Linked DNA regions of Homo sapiens: regions 1 and 2 are each linked to region 3. Evidence: promoter capture Hi-C in human tissues and cell types (Jung and others, 2019). All regions are on one chromosome and are shown on one strand. The core of a region is centred on a gene start or on the middle of the fragment in contact, and the rest is flanking DNA. Distances in the headings are between cores, read along the strand shown. Region 1 has its middle 10 kb from the start of ADGRF1. Region 2 has its middle 40 kb from the start of ENPP5. Region 3 holds the start of CYP39A1 (cytochrome P450 family 39 subfamily A member 1).

Region 1 (3,079 bases), core at 119-2,618, 400 kb after region 3:
GAACTCAAACAAATTTACAAGAAAAAAACAAACAACCCCATCAAAAAGTGGGCGAAGGACATGAACAGACACTTCTCAAAAGAAGACATTTATGCAGCCAAAAAATACATGAAAAAATGCTCATCATCACTGGCCATCAGAGAAATGAAAATCAAAACCACTATGAGATACCATCTCACACCAGTTAGAATGGCAATCATTAAAAAGTCAGGAAACAACAGGTGCTGGAGAGGATGTGGAGAAATAGGAACACTTTTACACTGTTGGTGGGACTGTAAACTAGTTCAACCATTGTGGAAGTCAGTGTGGCGATTCCTCAGGGATCTAGAACTAGAAATACCATTTGACCCAGCCATCCCATTACTGGGTATATACCCAAAGGACTATAAATCATGCTGCTATAAAGACACATGCACACGTATGTTTATTGCGGCATTATTCACAATAGCAAAGACTTGGAACCAACCCAAATGTCCAACAATGATAGACTGGATTAAGAAAATGTGGCACATATACACCATGGAATACTATGCAGCCATAAAAAATGATGAGTTCATGTCCTTTGTAGGGACATGGATGAAATTGGAAACCATCATTCTCAGTAAACTATCGCAAGAATAAAAAACCGAACACCGCATATTCTCACTCATAGGTGGGAATTGAACAATGAGATCACATGGTCACAGGAAGGGGAATATCACACTCTGGGGACTGTGGTGGGGTGGGGGGAGGGGGGAGGGGTAGCATTGGGAGATATACCTAATGCTAGATGACGAGTTAGTGGGTGCAGCACACCAGCATGGCACATGTATACATATGTAACTAACCTGCGCAATGTCCACATGTACCCTAAAACTTAAAGTATAATAAAAAAAAAAAAAAACAATCTGTAGCAATTAACTTGTGCTAGTAACATTGTTTTGCATTGACCTACTCATTTGTTTCACACCATGGACTGAATAACATATCTTTGCCTCATTGATTTGAGATGCTACCTTTATTAAATACTAAATTCCTATGTGACTTTGGGTCAATTCATGGATTTTGTATTCATTTCATTCGTCTGTGTCTGCTCAAGAACAACTTAATACTCTGTTTATTGTGACTTCATCATATATCTTTATATCTAATATACTAATTATTCCTCATTATTCTTCCTTTTCAGAATTTTTCTATTTCTGCTTATTAATTTATTCATATAAACTTTAGAATAAGCTTGACTTTCCCCCTCCCCACACACCACAAAAACCTATTGATATATTTATTGAGATTATGTTAAGTGTATAGGTAAATTTGGGGATAATTAATGTCTTTTGAGTTCCTCTAAAGAAGAATATGGCTTGATTTTCTACATGATCAAATAAAATAAAATAATTAAGCAGTGCTGATCATAATTCTGAAAGATGCAATTTTGAACATGATAATCTGTAATTTCAATCATAATTTGGGTTGAAGTACCGAAGGATCAAAATCTCTAGTCTAAAATCTTGAAAATCACAATAAATCCCAAATGTTGAAACCCTGAAACCTGAATTCTGGGGAAGGTATGAATGAGTTTTCAGCTGTAAGCAGGGTTGTTGCATCATGTTAGTTGCATTATGTCAGGCAGAACTATTATTACCTTGTTTTTGTCTTTATTTGCATTTGGAGGGCAATTCAGATGACTGGATGGGCCATGTGATAAGGCAATGATGAAAGCTTCCTTTTAAAAATGCATTATTTCGGCTGGGTGCGGGGGCTCACGCCTGTAATCCCAGCACTCTGGGAGGCCGAGGTGGGTGATCACCTGAGGTCAGGAGTTTGAGACCAGCCTGACCAACATGGTGAAACCCCATCTCTACTAAAAATACAAAAATTAGCTAGGTGTGGTGGCATGGGCCTGTAATCCCAGCTACTCGGGAGGCTGAGGCAGGAGAATCACTTGAACCCAGGAGGCAGAGGTTGCAGTGAGCTGAGATTGCACAACTGCACTCCAGCCTGGGCGACAGAGCGAGACTCATCTCAAAAAAATAATGCATTATTTGTCTGCACTGGCATTCCTTTCAGCTGGTGAAATTCCAGGAGCTTTTAATGAATTAAAGTCGCATTTCTCTGAAGAAGCCAGCAAAGTTACTGACTAGTTTAAAAATAATTATGTGCCTGGTAGGATAGGAAGACACTTATACAACAGTGTTGGGGTTCGATCAACAGTATAGTTCCCACCAAATTTGTAGTCTGTATATAAGTGCACGCGGAATGGACTTTGCATGCGCAAAGCAACCTAGAAGTGTGGTACAGAAGATGGGAAAACAATAGGGAATGCTTATGTTGTTGTATATTGAATCACAGAATGATTTCAAAAAGAGCAAGCACCATATAGAAAATGAAAGTGAACATATTCTCCAAGGAGAATCATCTGGATGCAAGACTTCAAAATAGAGCTAATGATAGTGAAAGCTGGCCAGCTCTTATGAACAGCCTATGTGCAATTATGCATAGTCTATCCCTCTAATTGCTTTTTCATATGGTAAATTTTCTTTTGAGTTTGTTTTTCTTCTTTTTTCTTTTTAAATTTTTGATTCCCAACTATTTTAAATTGACAGCATTATTTTTCACGATTTGCTATGCTATGTATTTCATCTTTACCTCATTTCCAATATTGGAGGTATAAATTGTGTAAAGACTTTTAGAGAGTTCTAATTCATTCTATGCATTTTTTATAAACTTGACTCCATGAAAGTACATTTGACTTCATGTGTAAGCCTCGTGTGTATATGTAAAAATATTGAAACTTTCTTAATAAATGAAGAAATGTCCTTTTAGTGCATCTGCTTTTGTAAAAGAGAAAACTGCTCAAGGGTTCGGCTCTTTGGGTGACTGCATATGCGGTGGCGAGTGATCACAGGTTTCTATTGTTCTTCTCAAAAGACGTGGGTTGTCCATCACAGCATTTCAGATTATTGCAGTTATAAAGCTGAGCGTACACAATTACCAGCCATAGTGATACATGATTTCTACATTTCACTTTTTCATCTATTTATGAATACACTCGTCTGCTCATAACTTATACCCATGCAATTGTTCCTAGTATACCTAAGTG
Region 2 (2,902 bases), core at 267-2,766, 440 kb before region 3:
AATAAAGAAAGAAAAAAGGAAATAGGAAAAAAGAATGCAAAGGAAATAAGAACAAAAATGAACAAAAATATTATCTTCAGAGTGATAAAAGAAGATATTGTATTCATAAAACAAGAGCAGGTGGTGCCAGGCACAGTGGCTCATGCCTGTAATCCCAGCATTCTGGGAGGCCAAGACAGGAAGATCACTTGAACATAGGAGTTCGAGACCAGCCTGGACAACATGGAGAAACCCCATCTCTGCAAAAAATACAAAAATTAGCCAACGATGTTGGCATATGCTTGTAGTCCCAGGTACTTGGGAGGCTGAGACAGAAGTATAACCTGAGCCTGGGAAGGTTGAGGTTGCAGTAAGCCGTGATCATGCCACTGGACTCCAGGCTGGGTGAAAGAGTGAGACCCTGTCTCAAAAAAGAAAGAAAGAAAAAAAGAAAAAGCAGGAGGTAATAGAAAAGAAACATTCAGGAATAAAAAAATCCTCTCAGAAATTAAATACATGTCAACAGAAAGAAAAATAAATAAAAGTGTTGAAAGATAATGTTTCAGAAATTTCCCAGAAAAATAGAGCCAAAAAGTCAAAGAGATAGAAAATTGTAGAGAAAGAAAACAGGAATTTGAGAACAATTTTGGAAGACTTAAGGTCCAACTAGTAGATATCCTTCGAATAATAGGAGGGAACAGTGAGATAGATATAGGGGAGGAAAGTTTCAAATAAGCTGTTTGGTATGGTTTCCTGTGTCCCTACCTAAATATCATCTTGAGTCATAATAAACAGCACATGGGAAGGGCAGGGCGAAGTGGAGATAATTGAATCATAGGGGTGGTTTCTCCCATACTGTTCTCATGGTAGCACATAAGTCTCAAAAGATCTGATGGTTTTATAAATGGGAGTTTCCCTGCACAAGTTCTCTTTTGCGTTCCGCTGTGTAAGACGTGCCTTTGCTTCTCCTTTGGCTTTCACCATGATTGTGGGGCCTTCCCAGCCATGTTGAATGGTGAGTCCATTAAACCTCTTTCCTTCATAAATTACCCAGTTGGGTATGTCTTTGTTTGCAGCACGCGAATGAACTAATACACTCTCTTCAAGAAAAATGTCCACAATGGAAGGATATGAATTTCTAGGTTGAAAGGACTTATAAGAAATCAAATACATGAAACTCAGAGCAGTTGAGACAAAGCAGCCCTAAAAGCTTCCAGGAGAAAATACAGTTTACGTAAAAGGGTCAGAATTTAGAATGACATAGGCCTTCTAGAAGCTGGAAAGCAATGGAGTGATGCCATCAAAACCCTGAATAAATTTCCACAAACCAACTATTATGTGAGTGTGAAGGTGCAATAAAGACATTTTCAAACATGCAAGATCTTGTAAAACTTACCTTCCATGCTCCACTTCTTCAGTGAAGATACTGGGAAATATGCTCCATCATAACTAGGAAGTAAACTTTTTTTCTCATTCATGTGTTCAGTGGAGGTCAGGTATGATTACGGAGGCTCTGATGGGCTCCCCAAATCCCATTAGGAGTCCTTACCAGGTAAGACAAGTCCTAGGAATTTGGCCTTGGGGCAATTCTGCAAATAGGGCCAGCAATAGTGATGATGATGGGCTCAATTGGCTCCAACTCTTTCTAATGCATATCTTTAACTTCCTGCCACTTCTTTTTATATTTATTGACTCTAAGCTTGAATTGCCTCTTAGACGCAGCTGGAAAGAATCCTCCCATATCCACTGTAGCCTTCATCTCTCCATGTCATCTGTTGAGGCTGTGTCATTTCTAGCTTCTCTGTTAGACTTCTTTCTGCATTCCAGAAGTGACTTAGATTTTCTAGACAGCTGTTGATATGCTTTATTGGGTTGCAGGGCTATTATATATATTTCCTTTGATGACCTTCTGTGTAATTTCCAGGAGATTTCTGGGGATTGGATGGGCAATAAATATATGTCCTTCATCTACCATTTTAAACAGAAACTCATAGACAGCAGATTTTGCCCTTCCCCCGTATTTACACATACTGCGTTGCTGATTAACTAAGGCTCTCAAACTTCTATTATCTCTTCTCCAAACTCTTCTCTTTCTCCCTGTGCATTTACATTTTTAAAACAAACAGTGACTGGGCATGGTGGCTCATACCTGTAATCCCAGCATTTTCAGAGGCTGAGGCAGGAGGATCACTTGAGCCTAGGAGTTGTCTAGCCTGGGCAACATAGTAAGACCCCATCTTTACAAATAAAATACAAAAAATTAGCCCGGTGTGGTGGTGCACACCTGTAGTGCCAGCTACCTTGGAGGGGCTGAGGTGGGAGAATCCCTTGAACCTAGGAGGTTGAGGCTTCAGTGAGCTGTGATCACACCACTGGACTCCACCCTGGGTGACAGAGTGAGGCCCTGTCTCAGTAAATAAATAAATAAATAAATAAATAAATAAATAAATAAATAAATAAATAAATACAGGACTTTACATATGTATCTATTATGTTTTCTTTTTTTTTTCCATTCCAGTGGATTCCACTGTCTTATTAAAAGCCCAAATTATTCTTTTTTTTTTATTATACTTCAAGTTTTAGGGTACATGTGCACATTGTGCAAGTTAGTTACATATGTATACATGTACCATGCTGGTGCGCTACACCCACTAACTCGTCATCTAGCATTAGGTATATCTCCAAATGCTATCCCTCCCCCCTCCCCCCACCCCACCACAGTCCCCAGAGTGTGATGTTCCCCTTCCTATGTCCATGTGATCTCATTGTTCAATTCCCACCTATGAGTGAGAATATGCGGTGTTTGGTTTTTTGTTCTTGCGAGAGTTTACTGAGAATGATGATTTCCAATTTCATCCATGTCCCTACAAAGGACATGAACTCATCATTTTTTATGGCTACATAGTATTCCATGGTGTATATG
Region 3 (2,991 bases), core at 83-2,582:
AAAATGACCAAAATAATATAAATACACTAAATTTTTACAGTACAGCTGGTGTGATATTCTGGGTTATTTTTATTTTCATCTTAGTTCTCTTTAATTTTCTATATGTTTTTTACTAAATTGGAATCTCAGAGATTTTGAAGGCAAATGATCAGTGGTAAAATAATGCTACTACGTATAAATTCATTCTACAAATTGGGCTAACCAGATGGAAAATGGGTCACCACAGAAAGTATTATAATTCATAAGAATAATTATAATATCATACAAATTTATTAGACAATCAAATACCATAAAATATTTGTGACTGGAAATTGAATAAAACTTAAAAGACATTAATAAAGGTCTGTTCCTTAAAGTGCTCAGACATTTAAAAGATACTTTCAAGACAAAAACATCTACTACAAGGAGGATTACTAGTCTCTTCAGGCCGTAGTGAAAATGGAGTACATCATCATCAAATAACAACGTCAGCTAAAAATACAGAGCCTGTTTATTGTGTACGGACCAACTGTGCAAGCAATTTGTACAATACTTTGGTGTTAACTCCAATTTGGATACGAATTACTCATTTTCACAAACTTAAATTGGATTACACTTTATCTTTCCCAATTACTGAAAACATTTACTTAACACATACACATTTGGAACTTAACTTCGATGAAGTAAAAATACGAAAAGTTAATCTCTACTTCCAAAAATGTCGATGCACGCTGCAATTGTATTTCATTTCTTTCGCAAAATTTTGCACAGGATATTGTTGTTAATTGTTAGTAGAGGAATTCAGAAATGACTAGATCCTTTAGTTGAGGCAAGCAGGTATGTTCCCCGTGTTCTAGCCCTGCACTTAAGAGTCAATGAAAGAAAGTTTAAAAAAGAAAGCATTGTCTCCTCTGGAGACCCCGTCTGCCACGACCACATACCTTGATTCTTGCTTTCTCTATAAATTCTAGAGGGGCTTTCCCAAACTCAAATCCAACTCCAATCCAAGGAATCCAGCCCTTGATGCACGGGGGTCTACGCAAATTCTTCCGCTGAAGGAGTAAGAACAGAGCAAGGCAACCCAGGATTATAATCACTGTTGGGGAAATTAGTTCCATGTTTTTGTCCAGCACCTTCCAGAAGCAGAAAAGTGTGAAACAGTCCTGCCGTCCCTTGCTTCTTTTCTGTGGGCTACGGAACCTGTCGGGACTCCCAACCTTTCTGCTGCAACTTTTGCAGCTCTCCTTCGTAACTGTAGCTTCCTTCCTCTGTCCCAGTTTTCAGGTGATTTTTCCATTGTCGCTCCCTCCCACCTCCACTTCTCTTTGAATCTCAGCCAGCGCGGAAAAAATGCAAGGAGGGGCAGGGCCGGGCTAGGACTGACGGGCGAGAACCAGCCGCGTTGCCATGGAGGCCGGGGGCGGAGCCGCAGAGGGACCCGCGGCCGGCCAATCAGAGACGTAGCGGAGCCCGGCGGACTACATTGCCCAGTAACCTCCTGGGCTCCGCTGTGTTTTTCTATTCTGGGGTGTAAGGGGCAGCTGGACCACTCCAGCTGGGACTGCTAGGAAGGTTGCGGGTCCACCCGGCCGAGCCGAACGAGGGAAATGGTCCTCACCCGGCCACTCGCCGGTTGAAAAGGGGCCGCCCTGGCAGGGAAGCGGCCGCCGCGGCGCGGTGCAGCGCAGCGGCGAGAAGGAGTGCGTTATCGTCTTGCGCTACTGCTGAATGTCCGTCCCGGAGGAGGAGGAGAGGCTTTTGCCGCTGACCCAGAGATGGCCCCGAGCGAGCAAATTCCTACTGTCCGGCTGCGCGGCTACCGTGGCCGAGCTAGGTACCCGGCTGCCCACGCCTGGGCCTCCCGGGCCAGTGGCACGCGCCGCGCTGGGGGAGGGTGCGCGGGCGGCTTCGCGCCCGGCAGTGCGCATCGGAGAGGTCGCCCCTTCCATGCCCGCCTGGCAGAGGTGGCGGTGGAGGCCAGGCCCGCGGTGGGAGGAGGAGGGATTGAGGTCTCCACGGCCTTTTCCTTCTAATCTCTTCTAATGCTTCCCTTAGGCATGTGCTGTGGTGCTTGAATGTTGTACTTTAAGAAGCTTCGCGAGCTGTCATTCCTCTGTAGGAATCATTTTCCTTTTCATGAGGATGACCTTTTTAAAAACGTAATCTGTTTTCCATCCTTACTGAGATCATCTCTGTGGTTTATAGTCTTACACAGCCACACTGTCATTATCTTGTGGGTCCAAGTTGTGGACCTACCTTGTGGGACTTCCGTTATTAACCTGCCACTCACAGAGCATCGACTACTTGACCTCTTTGAGTGTAATTCATCTATACTGTTTACCTTGCAGGATTCTGAGAAGTCAATAATATATGATTGCTAAACCCAAGGCAGGACACCCATTAGTTGCGACATTTTTATAATTCCTACAATACCAGGGACTGTGGATATATATTTGAAAAGACCCAGTTCTGACCTTCTTACAGGCTGCTGGGGAGACAGAGAAAGACAATTATAATGTGCTACTTGTTATAATGAAGATATTATTAGGTGTCATAAAAGCATAGAAGAGCAGTTACATCTGCCTACATGAGTAAGAAAAAACTTTAAGAGGCCATCTAGAGTGGAATGATGATGCCCTTGAATGAGCAAGTAGCGTTTATTCCAAGGATTTTGTGAGTAGTATACTCATGTGTTTCCTGTGAAGCCTTAACTGTGTATTTTAAGATTACCCTTACATTTTCTTGCCTGTTACAAAAAAATAAAAAGAACAGTTCTGATGCGTTATCATTTGTAAATGTTAGTTGGTCCTATTTTAAGAGTTTATTTTTTAATTCTAGCATAGCCAGCCATGATCAGTTGTTTCGTGCTCTTCCATTTTTGCCTTTTAGCCCCTCTATTTTTTAATGTCTCTCCTTTCGAAAATGATGGAGAATTTTTACTTTTCATTGTTTTTACTGAAATAAAATTCATCAGCTTAAAAAGATCTAAAAGCAGATTGCTGAATGATATTT

Evidence for each region. The method cuts DNA at HindIII sites, captures the fragments that hold promoters and counts their contacts. A contact is called where the count stands out against the background at its distance.
Region 1: a contact is called between a fragment that was not itself captured here and the fragment with the promoter of CYP39A1 in region 3, in 1 of the 25 tissues and cell types used here (mesendoderm cells).
Region 2: a contact is called between a fragment that was not itself captured here and the fragment with the promoter of CYP39A1 in region 3, in 1 of the 25 tissues and cell types used here (dorsolateral prefrontal cortex).

The regions. Positions count from the first base shown.
Region 1 is chr6:47,051,077-47,054,155 of GRCh38, forward strand. No RefSeq gene overlaps it. Among named protein-coding and RNA genes, the nearest start is that of ADGRF1, 10 kb to the left of the region's middle. The HindIII fragment of the contact is 5,628 bases long and covers 1-3,079 here.
Region 2 is chr6:46,209,697-46,212,598 of GRCh38, forward strand. No RefSeq gene overlaps it. Among named protein-coding and RNA genes, the nearest start is that of ENPP5, 40 kb to the left of the region's middle. The HindIII fragment of the contact is 3,629 bases long and covers 1-2,902 here.
Region 3 is chr6:46,651,486-46,654,476 of GRCh38, forward strand. It overlaps CYP39A1 (cytochrome P450 family 39 subfamily A member 1), which reads right to left and starts at 1,333. Exons shown (of 12, transcript NM_016593.5): 1 at 921-1,333. The coding sequence starts at 1,097. It overlaps SLC25A27 (solute carrier family 25 member 27), which reads left to right and starts at 1,490. Exons shown (of 9, transcript NM_004277.5): 1 at 1,490-1,813. The coding sequence starts at 1,708. RefSeq lists enhancers at 1,238-1,287, 1,518-1,647 and silencers at 1,308-1,397, 1,828-1,927. The HindIII fragment of the contact is 4,112 bases long and covers 1-2,991 here.